Regions from separate parts of the Homo sapiens genome. Here all the other regions are linked to region 7. Evidence: promoter capture Hi-C in 16 types of primary human blood cells and fetal thymus (Javierre and others, 2016). All regions are on one chromosome and are shown on one strand. The core of a region is centred on a gene start or on the middle of the fragment in contact, and the rest is flanking DNA. Distances in the headings are between cores, read along the strand shown.

Region 1 (2,700 bases), core at 22-2,521, 8.6 Mb before region 7:
TGTCGAGCAGTATATAAAGTCATGTTAGTCCACCTACTTTGAGCCACTGCATCTTTTAGGCATTCCTTGCCATCCTCTAATAGATCAGCACCTCCTGTGCTCAATTTACCAAAACAGATTGCAGCCTGGCACCTGGAAACCTGTGTGGCCTGCAGGTGTCTTCTCTAGCCCTGAATGGGTTTGTTTTTTCTTTAAGTTGTTTTATTTAATTAACCAATACCTAAATTAGATATTAGAAACTTGAATGTTCTGGTTTGTCATAAAATCTGGCCTTAGTGGACTGGCATTTTGATACAGCAAAAATTGGTTGGAGCTGAGTAGAGGCATTCTCTTTAGATGGAGTCTGTGAGCTCTAATTTGCTTTCTGGCTTATTTCATTCATTTGTAATCTACCTGAATTCTACAGGCATTCAGGCTTACTACCCCTGTTCTGGTATATTCTCTAGCCTTACTGGTTTACCCTAATCTTTACCCATAGTTAAGGCTAAGAGAGTTTTTCTCAATCCAATTAGTCATAGAACAGCAGGATCCTTTTTTCCCCCGACTCTTAGGATAAGCTCTTGTTGCAAAGGAAACATTTCCTTTTAGTAGCCATAATCCAAAGTTAGCTACATTCACTCATTCAACAAATAGTCAAGTACTTATCATGAGTCAAGCACCGGTGATACAGCAACAAACAAAATGGACAGAAATTCCTGTCTTCATGGAGTCTCTATTCTAGTAGTCTCCTGGCTCAGTTTGCAGACATTTATTGAATCTGCTTTTGTTCTACACATGAAAATCTATTTCCTGGTATCCTTTTTCTAACAGCCTTTATGGTAGTCTTCTGCTGTGCTTTCTTAACTCTTTCAAGGCACCAAGCCCTTTTATCTTCAGTTCTTCCTCTAATCCTGCTGCTAGAATTTCCTACTTTCCATGTCTTCTTACCAGTGAGTTGCTATATCCATTTATCCCTGGCCATTATTTCTTCTCAGACAAACCATTATGCCTTGAATATTTGTCACAGTTCACTTACCAGAGCCAAAAATTTAACATAGGAATTCATAAAGCATTGATGAAGAGACAGAAGTCCCCTTCCTCCCCTGCAAAAAAACGAGCTTTTTTTCTAAGAGAATCCCTCTTCAAGTTACTTCCCAGTTTTTGTTCTGCCTTGCAGTAGTATCATTCTCCAATAGGTAAAATTATTCACTGTCTCTCACTGTTCAGACCTCTGCAGTCTGATCTCCCTAATTGTATTGATACTATTTTTGTGACTGATGTTCTTCCGATTTTTAAATTTATCTTCCTAAATCTCATTTTAAAACTTTGAGCACTGTAGGATCTATTCAGTTTATAAATCCCCATGTGCCAGGTCCTGTGCTAGGTGCAAAGGTACCTTTTTAGTCTATCAGAAGCTCCCTCCCATTGTTTTAAGAACTAAGTATTTGAGGTACTAGTTTTGTTCTTTTTTCTCTCTGAGTATAATCTCCTTCACTCCCGAGACTCTGCAATGATAATTCTCTTCCAGATTTCAACCTATGAATTTATTCTGTAGCATTTGTTGTTATGAGCATCTCTTCTCCCCTACCTCTTTGGCTTCTGTGGCAGTACTTTATCCTCCCAACTTGCAGATCATTCCTTTTCCCCTCAGATGACAGTTGGTGACGTTCTTTCTTCCATTTTATTACCTCCTTTGCTAATCCCGCCTATTCCATAGAATCTATCACTTATTTATGTGCTAATAACCCTGACATCTAATTATTCCTTTGAACTCTAGTGAACTCTAGGCATACATTTTCATTTATTTGACCACTTCTTGAGGACCTCACATTCAAATGCAAGTATAAAATCTATACACAGTGTAAGAATTATTTATCTCATGCGAATCTCTTCTAACTAGCTGCTTACACTAAGAACTTGGTGGCATATTGACTCACCTCTCCTGCACACCCTTGCCTTAATTCAATCCAGCTAGCTAAAGTAGTCGTGACTATATTCACTCTCTGTAGTGTCTGATCAGTTTTCTTTTATTCCCACGGTTCTGTAATAGGTTCTCATCTCTTGACAATGTATATAGAGTACCTACCATGAAAAAGTACATTTTCTATTTCTCCCAATCTCCCATAGAATTCTAAGAAAAATAAAACTTGAAAATATCTCTGTTTGGAAGCCATTTGACTCCACATTGAAGACTGAAGAAATTTGTGGCTTTAAAAAATCTGGTGCTAGAGAAGTAATGCAGGCTTTGATTCAAACACGTTGGAGTGCCTGTCTGTTCCAAATACTCTATGCCTCCTTTTTTTGCTTAAAATGGCAGGCTCTGGATCCTCTGTTCTGCTATATTCAGAGCAGTTCTACTTTCTTCTTTTACTGATCAGATTTTACATTTTCTTAAAAGAGAGTTCTGTTGACTTTAAAAAAAAAAAAAAAAAGATTGCAAATCAGCGCTCTAAGCAGCATTTTTGCCACGAAGAATGACATTTGATGGAAACAGGAAATTAGTACTTTCAGCTGGGACCCGTACCTTTGCCTTTCTGCTGTTCCTTGTCATTAATAGTGGTAGGATACTACAAGTCTGTAAAACTAGTAACTGTATATCAAAAACTTAAGACTAGTTTTTAGTTATAAAATTCACGCATGTATGTAGTTAACATTAAGTATATGAATGTGTACAATTATGCCTAACTGCTTTCACAACTTTATAATGTCAATATTTATAAT
Region 2 (2,700 bases), core at 158-2,657, 8.6 Mb before region 7:
AAATCTTGTTCTTAGATAACTCTATTTCCTGCTATTTTTATTTACTTGGTTTTAGGTACCTGGGATAAATGATAGCAATATACTGCCTTTGGTTTTGAAAGAGTCACTCATACCCAGTGTGGGAAGATTTCTTGCCTACTCTGATGACAAAGTACATGCTATCTTTTTAGATGGCATTACTCTAACCCTAAATTGGAATTTCAGCTCTCCTATTGAGAAGAGACAGGTGGGTATACTTCAGACTTAGATCTATTTTTTATTGGTAATCTGTGGAAAACAGAACAAAGAAAACAAAGTACCACACTATTTCAGTTCATTTTTTGAAGTATAAAATCTGTCAAGAAGCTTTACTGATCTCTTTGGATTTCCTAGCAAAAATCAGAATGATTTGACAAATAGTCACTTTTCTAAAGATAACTGATTATAGAGAAAGGGATTAGTATTTTCATTTGCTTTGATAATTACCTATATGAGTGGTGGTTAAATAACACCCATATCTCATGTAAACAACATTTAAACTGTTGCATCTTTAATGATTCCTCTACTTATTTCTTTAAGTTAATGAAGTTAGAATAGGTTGTTTATGTTCTTTTTTTCAGTTCTAAAATGATAAAACTTATCTTTCTACTTCTTCAGGTAAATCAAGGTCTTAACTTAGGTTGGTGTAAGTTAACTTTTCCTGATGGACAAGAGCAGTTAATTCAGATTGAACACCCTGAACCATATGAAAGGTACTGAAAAGCAATTTTAAAAATTATTTTTATGTTTTACTTTTAACTAACAGAGAATAAGCAATAAGCATTATTTAAGTGTTATATATATTTTTAGTTTTTCCATGTGGATAATAATGAAGGCATTTCAGTCGTTTCAGAGTTGATAGCTGTACTTGTGTTTAGCATAACTAAATAGATCAAGTCAGCTTTTTTTTTTTTTTTTTTTTTGAGACAGAGTTTTGCTCCTGTGGCCTGGGCCGGAGTACAATGGCACGATCTCGGCTCACCACAACCTCCGCCTCCTGGGTTCAAGCGATTCTCCTGCCTCAGCCTCCTGAGTAGCTGGGATTACAGGCATGTGCCACCATGCCCGGCTAATTTTTGTATTTTTAGTAGAGATGGGGTTTCTCCATGTTGGTCAGGCTTGTCTTGAACTCCCGACCTCAGGTGATCTGCCCACCTTGGCCTCCCAAAGTGCTGAGATTACAGGCATGAGCCACCATGCCCGGCCTTCAGGTCAGCTTTAATCATTTCATTTGTATTCAAGTAACTTTTCAAAATGAAATGTGTTATAGACATACTGATTTGCTGTGGAGGTTGGATATGGTCAGCTGTGTTAACAATTAACTAATCCTCTAGCCAATTTGAAATAAGATTTGCAACCACAAATAACTGAAATTCTGTATATTTCTATAAAGTGGATAAAATTACGCAATGATTATCTTAAAATGGGGAAGAGTCTTCAGCTTTTTATGAATTTTTTTTCTTTTGGTTTATCTAATTTATTACAGTAAATCTTGTGATAGTCTTCACATTTTAGTGATTTCACTTGAGAATATTCACAAAATAATAGCTTTTTGTTACCTCTTGAATGTATTTTTCTGTTGGGTTTTATTGTGTTTCAGTCTAAGTGCTCATTCATTGCTATTAATGATTTGCCTCAAAAAAGATAGTTTCTTTAGCAAACATTTCTATTGATTCAGCCAATCATTTCAGATCATTCATTTTATTAAACTTGATACTTGTTTTAGATATGTAGTAAGTTACATATAATTACACATATGCATACAAGCATATGTGTATATGCATTAGCAGGTGTTTTTTGGTTTAAATTTTAGTAAGCAAATGCTCAGTCAGTCTTATTTTGTGTGAATATTTTTTGATAAAACTTAAACGCATTTTACTTTGAAAAACTAAAAGAATTAGAACATTTAAAATTGAACTTTAAATGAAATCCAAATATCGCCTTTATTTTGATTCTTAAATGTCACTTGTATTAATCACAAATATAAGTAAATCATTTTATTCTTGATGAATAATGGAAAAAATTTGGCTTTTCTATGACCAGTGAAAAATATTTTGAGAATTGCCCAGTAAATGCTTCACTTTAACATTTTTTCTTTATCCTTTTTTCCCAAATTGTCTTATTTTTACATTTGTTTATAATTTTATAATGTATTCAAGTTCATTTTTCAAGTATTTCTTTTAATGTATTCACTTTAGATATGTGACAACAGTAACATCATGGTGCAGGAGACTGACCCAGACTAGTCCCAGAGAGATGCCCACTCATTCGTCATCTTCTGTTCTCCAAGAAAATTGGTATTTTTCTTTTAAACTTAAATCTGTTTAGAAGAGCTAATACTTTAAAAAAAATTAAAATGTCAAATGGTAAACTGAGACTTTTTTCCCCAAAAAAACTTTCTTAGTTTTGAATATGTTTAACTCCTAAAGTATTTTTGATAGCTTAAGCTTGAAAATAATTTCTAATCAGACATCTAATTTATTACATTTCATCATATTCTATTTTACCTAAAGGTAAGAAAACCTTGCATTGAAAACTTAACATGAAAATGAGTGGCTCTTTTTATGTGACAAATTCATCCTGAAAACTTTATGGAAAAATTTAAAGGGGATTCTTAAATTTTTAGTAATGTTGAAGGAAATAAAAGGTTTAATAACATAAGCTTTCAGAAAACATTGATTT
Region 3 (2,700 bases), core at 187-2,686, 8.2 Mb before region 7:
GATACTCTAGCTGTAAATATATCAGCTATAATGCTAAACTGGAATATACCAAAATTAAAGAATATTCTTAACTCTTTTTTGTTTTCTTTACTCCCCTAGGCATCAAAGGGAAAAAAGGAGTTTCTAGGCAACCCATTCAGAACAAAGAATACGTACACAATGAAATAGATATAAAACCAAAACCCAAGAACCCTAAAAGAAGCTAAAATTCTGTAATTACGTAGGCAAACATTTATTTCCTGCTGTTTTAGATTTTGATGCTGGTGGTAGGGGAGGAGTTACTGCAGTAGCAGAAGAAAAAGCATGGTAATTAATAGCACAAACTTAATTCCTTGCTAGTTGGACAACCCTGGGCAAGTAACCTTTTAGAGCCTGCTTCCTGAAGTGTAAATTATTACAAATAACACCACTTCCCTTTTTGAAAAGAAAAGAAAAGAAAAGAAAAGACAGGGTCTATGTTGCCCCAGGCTGGCCTCGAACTCCTGGGCTCAAGCAATCCTCCTGCCTCAGCCTCCCGAGTAGCTGGGACTACAAGCACAAGCCATCCTGCCCAACATCAAACGATTGCTGTGAGCCTTAGACAATACACAAAACTACATATCACAACGCCTGGCACTTGGCAGGTTATTATTAGAAAAATGTCTAGAAAGTACAAAAATCACTTTTTGCTTCAAGGTAACAGGTATTGATCCATCCCATTGTAGAGCCAGAATTTCCTCTAAATGCTACTTCAGTTCATTTTTCCTAGCTTTCTCCCTATTATGGCAGCCCACTTCACACTGCATGTCATCTGTACCTCTGCTAATACATCACTACTTCTGCTATAGAGTACAGTAAAAGCTTCTACTGTAACCTGCAGCATCTCCAGCAGTCTGAAACATAAGCCCACTGAACAAAGATAGTAATTCACGTTTAATACTTGTTTTCAAAAAACAATGACCACCAGTTTCCACAATGGAAAAGACCAACATCTACCATCTAAGTTTTTCCTGGCAGATCATTCAACCAAGCACTTCACTGAAAGTAAGACTTCTCAGGTATCAAAAGAACAATTTATCTACCTTTACCTACAGGAACTACTGATGCCTATTTCCTATGGTGTCTTGATAAACTGTCTAAAACTGCTTCACCAATTGTTTGCTAAGTATTGTATTTAAAACAAGCATTTAAATAAAATGGCTTCTTTGATTTATTAAATAAAAAAACAACAAGAATCATTTACCTTCTATCTCCACCAATGGTTCTTGGGTAAACTCCTGAAAGAATTTGTAGAAGAACTTACTACAAGCAGCCAAAACAGCCTTGTGAGCCTTAAAATGGTGTCCTAGGTAAAATAAGAAAAAAAAAGAAAATCATACACAAGCACGAAAATCAAATGTATAACTACAAAATAGACTTAAAAATCATATAAAGCAAAATAGGTCTTCCTTCATTACGTAACTACAGAAATTATTGAACTAAATGCAGAATATTCTTGGCAGCTATCTTGGCAAATGTTAATCTCAATTAGATATAAAGCTAAATCTTCACTTCAAACCCCTTTAGTTTTATAAAGCCTAATTTACAACACTAGGTAAGGAGCCTCTTGACACTCTGTTGTTTCCAATTAAGTAGTGAGAAGCATATCCAACTCAGTTGAAACTGCTAAATAAAAGGACAACCCAAAAGGTCACATATCATTTGGAAAGAGAGAAAAAAACCGTAAGCACAAAGCTGGATATGTCTGCTATGAAAAACATTTTAATATGCCTAATATTTGGAAGCTCCATCTATGGTAGACCCATAATTTTAAAAACAGGTTACCTTGAGAAACCTATTTTCGCTAAACAGAAAACATACCCACGCTGGATTTCCTTCCATTATAGAGGCAACTCCTAAGGCTGGTAAAGACCCCATTTTATTTTGGAGATTCTCAAAGGGGGTATGAGTGCTGCAATGGAATCTCTCATTCTCCCTTCAAGACCATTTGGGAAACTAGAAAAAAAATCAACACTTCCCAAATGACTCCTGTAAGGGACTTCTCAAAGCTTACCAACAAGAGGCTATCAACCAAACATTTTGAGACAATCTGTCCCCAACGACATCATCTTGCACTCAACAGGATGTAAGAAGTTAAAATGAGATGAACACCAGACTACGTGGAAGGCATGACTGACCAACCAGCCTTCTGCAGCACGCTGTGTGAGTGGACACTGACAAGTGCAATCTGGTCCCAGTGCACACACTCTGCAGACTTTGGTAGGGAGACCATAGAGGATGGGTTAAAAAAAAAAAAAAAAAAAAAAAGGCGGGTGTCCGAAGGACAGAAAAAAACTGAAGCCAAAAATTCGCTCCTCTGCCCACTGCCCTACCCACCGTCGACAATTAGGGTGATGTCAGTAAACCGGTCCTGCTCTCGCTGTTCATTCAATCGGTCGAGGATCATTTTATGATGTTCAGGGAACTCCTGAAGGCATTCCATCGTCTCTTCAGCCTCCATGGCCGTCGGGCTGCTCTACAAAAGAAGAGCATGATAATGTACACCCATGAGCTCGAGCCGAGGAACAAAACCCCTAAAGCATAAAACAACAACAAAAAAAACCAGCAACGTGAAAAGAAGGGGGGAGGGTGAAGCAAGAGGAGAGAAAGGCGAGGGAAGAAAGGCGAGCCGAGCGGCCCCGGAGCGTTGAGACCGGAGCCGCGGCCGCGGGACTCCGAGCC
Region 4 (2,700 bases), core at 63-2,562, 8.5 Mb before region 7:
CTGATCTTTTTCATCTTTTAATAGAGTTTTGTTGTTTCATTCTTGCTATTTTAATTCTTGGCATTTTGAGTTGCTGTTGTGAATGTTCATTTTCCCATCTTATGATTATTGCTATTATATTGAAAAATTGTTTTAGTTCATACCTTGAACTAACCACATTTTTCAACTTAAATTCCAACAGTTTTCTGTTGGTTCTCTTGGGTAGGCAGTCATTTCACCTGCAAACTAATGTAATTATCTTTTCCTTCCTGATAATGTAATGATACATTTTCTTCCCTCCCTCTCCTGCCTTTATTCTTTTTCCTCATTACATTGATTAAAACCGCCAAAACGATGTTATAATAGCTATACTGTTTCTGACTTTTTTTTAAATTATACTTTAAGTTCTGGGGTACATGTGCAGAATGTGCAGGTTTGTTGCATAGGTATACACGTGCCATGGTGGTTTGCTGCACCCATCAACCTGTCATCTACATTAGGTATTTCTCCTAATGCTATCCCTCCCCTAGCCCCCCACCCACCTATAGGCCCTGGTATTCCCCTCCCTGTGTACCCTCTCTGTGTCCATGTGTTCTCATTGTTCAACTTCCACTTATGAGTGAGAACATGCGGTGTTTGGTTTTCTGTTCTGTTAGTTTGCTGAGAATGATGGTTTCCAGCTTCATCCATGTCCCTGCAAAGGACATGAGTTCATTCTTTTTTATGGTTGCATAGTATTCTGTGGTGTATATGTGCCACATTTTCTTTATCCAGTCTATCACTGATGGGCATTTCGTTCCAAGCCTTTGCTATTGTAAACAGTGCCACAATAAACATACGTGTGCATGAGTCTTTATAGTAGAATGATTTATAACCCTTTGGGTATATACCCAGGAATGGGATTGCTGGATCAAATGGTATTTCTAGTTCTAGATCCTTGAGGAATCGCCACACTGTCTTCCACATTGGTTGAACTAATTTACACTCCCACCAACAGTGTAAAAGCGTTCCTATTTCTCCACATCCTCTCCAGCATCTGTTGTTTCCTGACTTTTTAATGATCGCCATTCTAACTGGCGTGAGATGTGGTTTTGATTTGCATATCTCTAATGACCAGTGATGATGAGCCTTTTTTCATTTTTTTTTTTTTTTTTTTTGAGACAGAGTTTTGCTCTTGTTGCCCGGGCTGGAGTGCAATGGCGTGATCTTGGCTCACCACAACCTCTGCCTGCTGGATTCAAGCAATTCTCCTGCCTCATCCTCCCGAGTAGCCGGGATTACAAGCATGCACCACCACGCTTGGCTAATTTTGTATTTTTAGTAGAGATGGGATTTCTCCGTGTTGGTCAGGCTGGTCTCGAACTCCCGACCTCAGGTGATCCACCTGCCTCAGCCTCCCAAAGTGCTGGGATTACAGGCGTGAGCACCACGCCTGGCAAATGTCTTCTTTTGAGAAGTGTCTGTTCATATCCTTCACCCACTTTTTGATGGGGTTGTTTGCTTTTTTCTTGTAAATTGGTTTCTCTGTAGATTCTGGATATTAGCCCTTTTTCAGTTGGATAGATTGCAAAAAATTTTCTCCCAGTCTGTAGGTGGCCTGTTCGCTCTGATGATCGTTTCTTTTGCTGTGTAGAAGCTCTTTCGTTTAATTAGATCTCATTTGTCTATTTTGGCTTTTGTTGCCATTGCTTTTGGTAACAAAAGACGAAGTCTTTGCCCATGCCTGTGTCCTAAATTGCCTAGGTTTTCTTCTTGGGTTTTTATGGTTTTAGGTCTTACGTTTAAGTCTTTAATCCATCTTGAGTTAATTTTTGTATAAGGTGTAAGGAAGGGATCCAGTTTCAGCTTTCTGCATATGGCTAGCCAGTTTTCCCAACACCATTTATTAACTAGGAATTCCTTTCCCCATTGCTTTTTTTTGTCAGATTTGTCAAAGATCAGATGGTTGTAGATGTGTGGTGTTATTTCTCAGGCCTCTGTTCTGTTCCATTGATCTATATATCTGTTTTGGTACCAGTACCATGCTGTTTTTGTTACTGTAGCCTTGTAGTATAGATTGAAGTCAGGTCACGTGATGCCTCCACCTTTGTTCCTTTTGCTTAGGATTGTCTTGGCTATTTATGCATGCTGTTTTTTGGTTCCATGTGAAATTTAAAGTTGTTTTTTCCAATTTTGTGAAGGAAGTCAATGGTAGCTTGATGAGGATAGCATTGAATCTGTAAATTACTTTGGGCAGTATGGCCATTTTCATGATATTCATTCTTCCTATCCATGAGCATGGAATGTTTTTCCATTTGTTTGTGTCCTCTCTTATTTCCTTGATCAGTGAGTGGTTTGTAGCTCTCCTTGAAGAGGTCCTTCATATCCCTTGTAAGTTGTATTCCTAGGTATTTTATTCTCCTTGTAGCAATTGTGAATGGGAGTTCACTCATGATTTGGCTCTCTGTTTGTCTGTTATTGGTGTATAGGAATGCTTGTGATTTTTGCGCATTGATTTTGTATCCTGAGACTTTGCTGAAGTTGCTTATCAGCTTAAGGAGATTTTGGGCTGAGACGATGGGGTTTTCTAATTATACAATCATGTCATCTGCAAACAGAGACAATTTGACTTCCTCTTTCCCTAATTGAATACCCTTTATTTCTTTCTCTTGCCTGATTGCCCTGGCCAGAACTATGTTGAATGTACAATTAAGTTATTATTCACTGTAGTTACCCTGTTGT
Region 5 (2,700 bases), core at 197-2,696, 8.7 Mb before region 7:
AACCATTTGAAGTTTAGGAGTTTTTGTAGTCACAAATGCTTAAAAATAGTTTTTAATAATTAGAGTTCTAATCTATCAGAAGCAAAAAGGATGAAACATTTACAAGACTATAATATAACATTTGGATCTGCTTTAAAGCCTAAAAACCAGAGAGGTGCCCAGTAGCCAAAAATCAAAACATAGGCTGAACCTGAGAAGACATGTAATCAAAAACTGACCTCTAGTGATGGCTTGTTACCAAAACCCACCATCTAGGTAAAATCAGGCTACAGAAAAGGTAGCTTTAATGTCTTTTCATTGTGGTTATTATGTTACATGGTTATTGGCAATTTATTGTCTCAGCTTCCCTTTTATAAATAATTATTAGTAAAGTGAACAGCCCCAGAGAGATGGGATTCTTAGATTTCAGTGTGTCTAACAATGCAGACACTCGACAGGTTTTAAGGGAACCATCACTAACCTTAATCTTAGCCCTCTTCTCCCAGGCTGACCAATCAAGAGTGTTTGATTTTAGGAAATAAATGTTAACTGACTAAATGAGCTGATGCTAATCAACATTAACTGGAAGAAAAAAGAGAACTGATATTAAAGAGCCAGCACAAAGTTCAACAATTGGCATTTGTTTAAGCTACATAAGTAAAACCAGTTTGCATTTGAAATTTCTGTGAGCATTTAAAAAACTAGCTCATGGCATACTACTGTGAATATTGTCCTTTGCATATTCATGTAAGTACCAATTACAAAAACCTATGGGTTTTTAAATCAATATAAAAAATTGGCCGGGCGCGGTGGCTCATGCCTGTAATCCCAGCACTTTGTGGCCAAGGCAGGCGGATTGCCTGAGGTCAGGAGTTCGAGACCAGCCTGGCCAATAGGGTGAAACCCCATCTCTACTAAAAATACAAAAATTAGCTGGGCATGGTGGCAGGTGCCTGAAACCTGAAACCCCAGCTACTTGGGAGGCTGAGGCAGGACAATCACTTGAATTCAGGAGGTGGAGGTTGCAGTGAGCCAAGATCACATTGCACTCCAGCCTGAGTGACTAGAGTGAAACTCCATCTCAAAAAAAAAAAAAATTATCTGTGTAATCATAGTTTAGGGGGTCTGGGAAGCTGGTGAGGAATAGAAGCTATGTTAGTTTCCTACGGCTGCTGTAAGAAATTACCACAAACTGGGTGGCTGAAAACAACAGAAATCATTTCTATCACAGTTCTGGAGGTCAGAAGCCCAAAATGAAGGGGTTGGCAGGGTGGATTCTTTCTGGAAGCATTGAGGGAGAAACCATCCCATGCCTCTGCCAGAGCTTCTGTTGGTTGTTGGCAGTCCTTGGTGTTCCTTGGCTTATAAATGCAGCCAATCTCTGCCTCCATCTTCACATTGCCTTCTTCTCTATGTGCCTGTGTCCAAACCTCCCTCTCCTCTCTCTTATAAAGATACCAGTCAGTGGTCTTAAGGACCACCCTAAGTCCAGGATGGTTTCTGTCTTGAGATCCTTGACTAATTACATCTACGAAGCCTGTATTTCCAAATAAAGGCGGACACAGATACTTTGAGGGGGAACACTATTCAGCCCACTACATGGGCATTCTGTGTGTTTAAGGGTAACACACTGTAAAGAGGGTTTTGGGGGTCTTTGGGGGGAAGTTTCTTTGTTTTTTGAAGAGGGATGGATTTGCCAGTTATTGAGTTTAAAGTGAAAATCCAAATTATTTGAGGGAAATTCAGGTGAAAGTCATTTTGTATTAATAATTGGGGAAAAATTTCCTTAGTTATATACCCGGTTTACTGGTTTAATAAGCACTCAACCTAATTGAACTTTTCCTGCAATTTCTATATATCATATATTTATCACCATTATCAAACTACTTGATTATAAAACCCCATAATAGTACTTGATAAAAGAACTTCAGCCAAATTAAATTTAAAGGAGTTTAATTGAGCAATGAACCATTCATGAATCGGGCAGCCCCCAGAATCACAGCAGATTCACAGAGACTCCAGGGGTGTCTTGTGGTCAGAACAAATTTATAGACAAAAAAGGTAAAGTGAGGTACAGGAATTGGAAATGAGGTACAGAAACAGTGAGATTGGTTACAGCTCAGCATTTGCCTTATTTGAATGCAGTTTGAACATTCAGTAGTCTATGAGTGGTTGAAGTATGGCTGCTGGGATTGGCCACCACTCAGCTCCTGTTACAGGTGCATAGTTATTAAGTCAGGTTTTCAATTTTGCTTATTAAGTTAGATTACAGTTCATCCACAAAGACTCAAATATAGAAGTACGGAGTCTTTCTCAGGCCATATTTAGTTTGCTTTAACACGCTTAACATTTTTATAATACTTCACTTTTTAAATTTTGCATTTGATTAAAAGTTCTAATTTAATATAAGTTTTGCAAAGCATCATCTCTTTGAAGATCTTTTTTTATGCTACATGTTACCCATAATAGAAAAATAAAAACCAGAATATCTCACCTCCACTGGTTCGTTATACTCTCCTATCTCCTCTCCTCCTACCATTTATTATCAATTCTTTCTTTTTCTTTTTCTTTTCTTTTTTTTTTTTTGAAACAGTCTCACTCTGTAGCCCAGGCTGCAGTGCAGTGGGGTGACTTCAGCTCACTGCAACCTCTGCCTCATGGGTTCAAGTGATTCTCCTGCCTCAGCCTCCCAAGTAGCTGGGATTACAGGTGACCACCACC
Region 6 (2,700 bases), core at 65-2,564, 8.4 Mb before region 7:
TTTAAAGCCCGAAATCAAATAGCTGCAGGATTTGAGTCAATATTTTGGTGGGTGACAATTAATAAAAATGCAGATTGGTTAAACGACATCTATTACAACCAACAGTGATGTATTAACTACACTAGAGATGCTGTTAAAGGAATAGCTGAGCAATTAGGGGCTATTAGCCAGATGGCTTGGGAAAATAGGATAGCCTTAGACATGATATTAGCAGAAAGAAGATGAGTTTGCGTTATGATTAAAACTCAATGTTGCACCTTCATCCCAAACAACGCCACCCCTAATGGAAGTATAACAAAGGCATTGTGAGGTCTGACTGCTCTATCCAATGAGTTAGCCAGCAACTCACGGGTAAATGATCCCTTTACAGGATGGCTAGAAAAGTGGTTCGGTAAATGGAAAGGAATAATAGCCCCAATTCTTACCTCCCTCATAGTCATAATAGGTGTACTTATTCTTGTCAGGTGCTGTGTCATACCATGCATCTGTGGGTTGGTGCAGAGGCTCATAGAAACGGTACTTACTAAAACCTCCCTTAACTATCCTCCACCTCATCCAGAAAAGCTTCTTCTTTTGGAAAATCAAGCAGAACAACTAAATCAAGACATGTTAAATAAGTTTGAAGAGAAAGCTGTAAGAAAAATGCAAGAGGAGGAAGTTGTTAAATATGAATTCTAAATTTCTCTTCAAAGAATTAATATGTCAGTATGTTCCATTCTTTGCCTTCTACTTTTAAACGTAGCTTCCTAGTAAAGCAACCTTTTCTGATTACCTACTCCAACCTGACTCATTCTCCACCTTGACTCATTCTGATTACGTACTCCACCTTGACTCATTCCAATTCATTCTTCACCCTGACTCATTTCATAACCATTTTTCCCGCCATCACTGTCTTTAAATTAGTCCATCGGAATTAGTTTAGCCTGTGCAGTCTAACCCTAGCCAATAAGGGAACGACACAGCAGTGGGGACCACGTGCGTCAGGAATAAGAACCCCTTTCCCTCCCTCGTCCAAGTGTGCACTCACCATTGCTCCATCTGTAAGGGTGCACCCTTCTATAGAAGTACCTTGCCTTGCTGAGAATTAAAAAGAAAATTTTATATTCGACTGCTATTTCTTTTGCAGCATGGAAACTTTATTTATAACAAGATCTTCTGTATCTAATTACTAACCCTTTTTGTTCTCCATTGCTTGGCTTCCCAGTAATCAATAATCATGCTCACTTTGCTTAATTGAAGATTAACGTGATCAAAAAGACGGTCTGTTCCTTGTAGAAATTTCCGGTTGTGTAAGATGGTCATTCTCATGACCGTCTGGCTAATCATTTCCCATTATGTACTCCTGGAGTTGGAATTATTTGCGATTCCTAACGACAAAACTGTATCTTCTTTCTTGTGTTTGTCCTTACTGCCTTTCAGCATATTCCAATATGCCAAGAATTTTAATCTCCTACCCCACCCCAAATTGCTGTTGATCATAATCAGGCAATGTCTCTCTCTCTGTTTACTATCTAGTTACTTTACATACATATGAAGTGAGTCATGGGCAATACTGTGGAATGGAAATCATTACTGAGTGGTCCTCTTCCCCCAAGTCATTTATGCCACCACTTCACAGTGGTTCCATTTCCAATATATTTTGCCACTTTGCTGCTGAGAATGTGTCTTACTAGGTTAGCATCTATAGTGGTTAAAAGAATCTCCCATAACAATAATTGTGTGAATCACAGAATTACCAATGACCCCTTATCAATAGCATTCCTGTTAATTAAATTGAGATGGGGAGAGATACAAACAACTCCGAACCTCACTCATGGTCCCCCACCAAAGCTAAGTATTATGGCTTCTCTCTCTGACCAGATAGAGGCAGAGTTTATTGCAAAGCCACAAGTGTCCTCCTTTGGATTCCCCCAAATAGTGTTTCAGTGAATTCCTCTAGCTTGAATTGCTCCTCTCTATTTGCTGGGGGAGTTAGGCAGTCCGTATCCGATGGATTTACTATGCCGACAATTACGTGGCCTTTCCACAGCCTTTTACTTGGCAGGTACCACATATGAAGCTTAGAAGATACAGTGGGCAACAGGCCAAATGGAGTCCCTTTCCTCAGAGTGCATGGCCTGGCAAAAATCCTTGAATTCAGTATCAACTTCCCTTCACAGGCAAGGCTCTGCACCCTCCCCACGGATGCCTAATCCTGAAACCATTTTGTTTTAGGTTTAGTTAGAAAGCTTTGTCTCAAGAGCACTTTTGTTTGTTCTGTTTTCTTTAAGTCAAGGTAGTTTTGAATAAAGGAGACAATATTTGAGTATTTACAAATCGGGTATTTAGACTATTTACACATATACAAGTTCTGGGTGAAGTATTCTGCTCCAATTTGCAATCTACGCACACTTTGCTAGAAAACGTTAAGACTGAATTCAAATCAAGTACAGTATTTCAGAAATCTTTCAGGTGAAGCCTAGTTCTGGTTGCTAGGCAACCTGACAGACTCCCAAGCTGGGACCACCTCGCCTCCCACATTTGACCATCTCTCCAGCGGTGGGACGCGGAGTACCCATTGGCCCGCATCTCCTCTCACTTAGTCCCAATTGGTCGGAGAACCTCTCACTCCGCTCCCGTTGGCTCTCGCCGTATCTCGCAGCTCCGTCATTGGCAACTGGGCTCTCGTGCCACCTCACGTCAGTCTCTCACACCACTTCC
Region 7 (2,700 bases), core at 149-2,648:
CAAAATGGTAACTCCCTCCCTGAATTCCTGGAGCATATATTAGTTGTTCCATTAATCTAACCACCAATTATGTATGTTGCGATTTTTTTCTGGCAGTTGTATTTAACTTTTCATTTGTGTAAGGCAGAAAGTTGTTTTCCTAACAAGACTCTAAGACCCCTGTCTCAGCATTTCCAAATCTACTTAGTAGAGTGCAGTGACTTGCATATATTGGATACTCTGTAACCGTGTTTACTGATGAATGCTAATATGAAAGCCTCTTCATATGAACCTCAAAAAGCTGAAAGTCAACTACTCTCTTAGTTTCCCAGCCTGGAAGATCAGATTACTTCATAAAAGTCACACAGGCCTGGATTACAGACCAATGAAACATCCAAAGGAAGGATACTTCTAAGTAAACATACAAACTTTACTGGGGAAGCCGCCTGATTAAAACCTTCCCCGGCAGAATCATGTCCAAAGTGAAGTACAAGGTCTGCTTAAACAGCTTATTAAAAGAAAAAAAAAACAGCGAAAAAAGCGCATCCCTATTGAAAAGATATTTTACTAGCTCCCGTGTCTTAACTTCTTAACTAAGAAACGAAAAGAGCCATACATCAGGTTGAAGTATCTGGGATTCCCGGACGAGGTGGAGGGCAGCGGAGGAAAAACACCGAGAGGCTGCGCTGCAAGGGACGCAGGGAAAAGCAAGCCTGGGGCAGGTCTGAGTTCCGAGTTCCCGACTGCTCCCTCGTGGTGTCTGCGACCCGGTAGCGGGAGCAAGTGAGGTTGTTGGACTGCAGTTTTCCCCCTACAGTGGCGATGCGGGGCCGGGGTCGCGGGTATGAGGAGATGGGGTGTGAGCCGGGGTGCGCCAGGGCAGAGCGCTTCGCCCACCGAGACGGGCAGGGCGGCTCCGGGCACTGGCCGGGCGGGGCAAGGAGCTCCTAGGCCGCCAGGTCCCTCTCTGCTGGCTCCGCGGAGTCCGCCCGGGGGAAGGGAAGGTCGGGGAGGGCCGGGCTTCTCCGAGTGGCCGCGGGGGCTGCGGGACAGGTACTTACCCGGGTGCCATTTCAGGGCCAGCTTCCGATAGGCCTTCTTGAGCTCCTCCTCGCTGGCGTCGCGCCGCACCCCCAGCGCCTCATAGTGACACTTCATCGCCCGACCGGGCGGGCGGCCGGCGCTGGGGCCCGGGACGGGGTCGGGGCCCGGGCCCGGGCCGAAGCGGCGGCGGCGGCGGCGCTGGCAGTCCTCTCCGGCGGGAGTCCGCCGCCCGCACCGGGCCAGCCAGCGAGCCCGGCGGCGGCGGCGGCGGCGGCGGTGGTGTAGGTCAGTGAAGGCGCGCGGTGGCGGCAGACGACGCAGGCTGCGGCAAGCGGGAGCGCGGCGGGGGCGGTGCCGGCGGCCGCCGCTTCGCATGGGCTAGGGGTGGGCTCTGTGCCGGAAAGGGCCGCGCGGGAGGGGGTGGGGCCTCGGCGGGGTGAGAGGCGAGGCCCCGAGGAAGGAAGGCGGGGCCTTGGCGAGGAGAGAGGCGGGCCGCGCAGGAGAAAGGCGGGAGCTTGGCGGGGAAAGAGGCGGGCCGCGTGGGAGGAAGGTAGGCCTTGGCCGGGAAGAACAGGAGGAAGGCGGGACCTTGGTGTGAGAGGCGGGGCCTCGGCGGGGCGAGAGGCGGGGCCGCGCGGAAGGGAGGCAGGGCCACGCTGGTGTCATTGTGAGGGGCACAGATGGCGGTCAGTGTGAGTGGCAGCCGACCTGAGGGCTGAAGGGGGAGATAGGAGCTGGGATGGGAGAGGATTCTGGAAAATATCTGATTATAATTTCTCAATGGATCCCCGTTTTTATAGATAAGGCGATTCAGACTCCAAGTGGTCAAGTGGTTGGCTCAAGCCTCCTCAGCTAATACAGTAGCAGAATTCGGTTGGACTGAATATCAGGTTTTTTTTTTAATCTCTTTAATTCTCTTCAGCTGCCACTTAAGATATCTGGTATTGATCATCTTGACCAATATGCTTGAGAAAGGACAGTTAGATTATTTAAGCGGAAACAATTTAAAAGGGAAGCATCAACACACTTAATGAAAAGCCTTACCACCAACATGGATGAAATTGTGCTGATCTATCCATCCAACACACTTTAATCCTAACTTTCTGGCCTCTAATCCTACCTTTCCAAGATTGGTTTAGGTTAAGAAAGCAGTTAAAGGATAGTATTTAACTGGTAGGTTTTGGTTGATCTGACTATCTGCACAATTATTCCAAACACTTTGAAAGGTATCAAAATAATACCATAATTATTAAAATGCATTAATACACCAATATATTTCACTGTAATGTGGAATGTTTACATGCATCAGTTAGGTGTGGGTTGTATTTACTAACCATGTATGGTTAGCTATGTTGCTAATATCTATTGCACAGGGTTGGCGTACCCAAGCGGTTTAGTAAGGTTATCCTTCTCTTCCCCAATATGCTGCCCCCAGTAAAATAAAAAACCCACGCTAAGCTTCATCAGGTTACTTCACACGCCACTGACCAACCAACTCACTACTCAGAATTCATACACTTCCCTTTTTTCCAGAGGAAGATTCTACACAGTCTCAGTTAGTTGGTAAATTGGTAATGGATAAGGATTGAGAAGTCTGAGTTTGGGGGAGAATGAAACCTTTCCCCTCCTGAGAACAGAATTGGGATGGTGGGCGGGGGGAAGGGAGGGACAAAAAAA

The links. Contacts are between HindIII fragments. The CHiCAGO score rates a contact against its expected background, and 5 or more counts as called.
Region 1: a contact is called between a fragment that was not itself captured here and the fragment with the promoter of DNAJC21 in region 7, in 3 of 17 cell types (fetal thymus, monocytes and total B cells). The highest score is 8.1, in fetal thymus.
Region 2: a fragment that was not itself captured here is called in contact with the fragment with the promoter of DNAJC21 in region 7 in 1 of 17 cell types (total B cells); the score reaches 5.2 in total B cells.
Region 3: a contact is called between a fragment that was not itself captured here and the fragment with the promoter of DNAJC21 in region 7, in 1 of 17 cell types (total CD4 T cells). The highest score is 5.5, in total CD4 T cells.
Region 4: a contact is called between a fragment that was not itself captured here and the fragment with the promoter of DNAJC21 in region 7, in 1 of 17 cell types (neutrophils). The highest score is 8.4, in neutrophils.
Region 5: a contact is called between a fragment that was not itself captured here and the fragment with the promoter of DNAJC21 in region 7, in 1 of 17 cell types (total CD4 T cells). The highest score is 7.9, in total CD4 T cells.
Region 6: a fragment that was not itself captured here is called in contact with the fragment with the promoter of DNAJC21 in region 7 in 1 of 17 cell types (neutrophils); the score reaches 5.7 in neutrophils.

What each region holds. Positions count from the first base shown.
Region 1 is chr5:43,551,457-43,554,156 of GRCh38, reverse strand. All of the region lies in intron 2 of PAIP1 (poly(A) binding protein interacting protein 1), which reads left to right. Among named protein-coding and RNA genes, the nearest start is that of PAIP1, 4.3 kb to the left of the region's middle. The HindIII fragment of the contact is 3,206 bases long and covers 1-2,700 here.
Region 2 is chr5:43,490,246-43,492,945 of GRCh38, reverse strand. C5orf34 (chromosome 5 open reading frame 34) reads left to right here. Exons shown (of 13, transcript NM_198566.4): 9 at 56-226; 10 at 637-731; 11 at 2,217-2,315. All of the region lies in intron 2 of C5orf34-AS1 (C5orf34 antisense RNA 1), which reads right to left. Among named protein-coding and RNA genes, the nearest start is that of C5orf34-AS1, 7.7 kb to the right of the region's middle. The HindIII fragment of the contact is 2,120 bases long and covers 348-2,467 here.
Region 3 is chr5:43,121,833-43,124,532 of GRCh38, reverse strand. It overlaps ZNF131 (zinc finger protein 131), which reads right to left. Exons shown (of 7, transcript NM_001330707.2): 2 at 2,356-2,494; 3 at 1,223-1,324. The coding sequence starts at 2,479. Among named protein-coding and RNA genes, the nearest start is that of ZNF131, 2.3 kb to the right of the region's middle. RefSeq lists enhancers at 1,964-2,531, 2,532-2,700 and a silencer at 2,678-2,700. The HindIII fragment of the contact is 1,187 bases long and covers 843-2,029 here.
Region 4 is chr5:43,473,196-43,475,895 of GRCh38, reverse strand. All of the region lies in intron 1 of TMEM267 (transmembrane protein 267), which reads left to right. Among named protein-coding and RNA genes, the nearest start is that of TMEM267, 9.3 kb to the left of the region's middle. The HindIII fragment of the contact is 7,857 bases long and covers 1-2,700 here.
Region 5 is chr5:43,598,408-43,601,107 of GRCh38, reverse strand. All of the region lies in intron 1 of NNT-AS1 (NNT antisense RNA 1), which reads left to right. Among named protein-coding and RNA genes, the nearest start is that of NNT, 3.4 kb to the left of the region's middle. The HindIII fragment of the contact is 3,540 bases long and covers 1-2,700 here.
Region 6 is chr5:43,313,659-43,316,358 of GRCh38, reverse strand. No RefSeq gene overlaps it. Among named protein-coding and RNA genes, the nearest start is that of HMGCS1, 1.6 kb to the right of the region's middle. RefSeq lists enhancers at 226-1,425, 1,520-2,034, 2,035-2,551, 2,558-2,700. The HindIII fragment of the contact is 1,495 bases long and covers 567-2,061 here.
Region 7 is chr5:34,928,257-34,930,956 of GRCh38, reverse strand. DNAJC21 (DnaJ heat shock protein family (Hsp40) member C21) reads right to left here and starts at 1,398. Exons shown (of 12, transcript NM_001012339.3): 1 at 1,041-1,398. The coding sequence starts at 1,137. It overlaps LOC124900961 (a long non-coding RNA gene), which reads left to right and starts at 1,276. Exons shown (of 2, transcript XR_007058731.1): 1 at 1,276-1,308; 2 at 1,824-2,700. RefSeq lists enhancers at 633-802, 269-914 and silencers at 943-1,142, 1,173-1,242, 1,253-1,722. The HindIII fragment of the contact is 5,598 bases long and covers 1-2,483 here.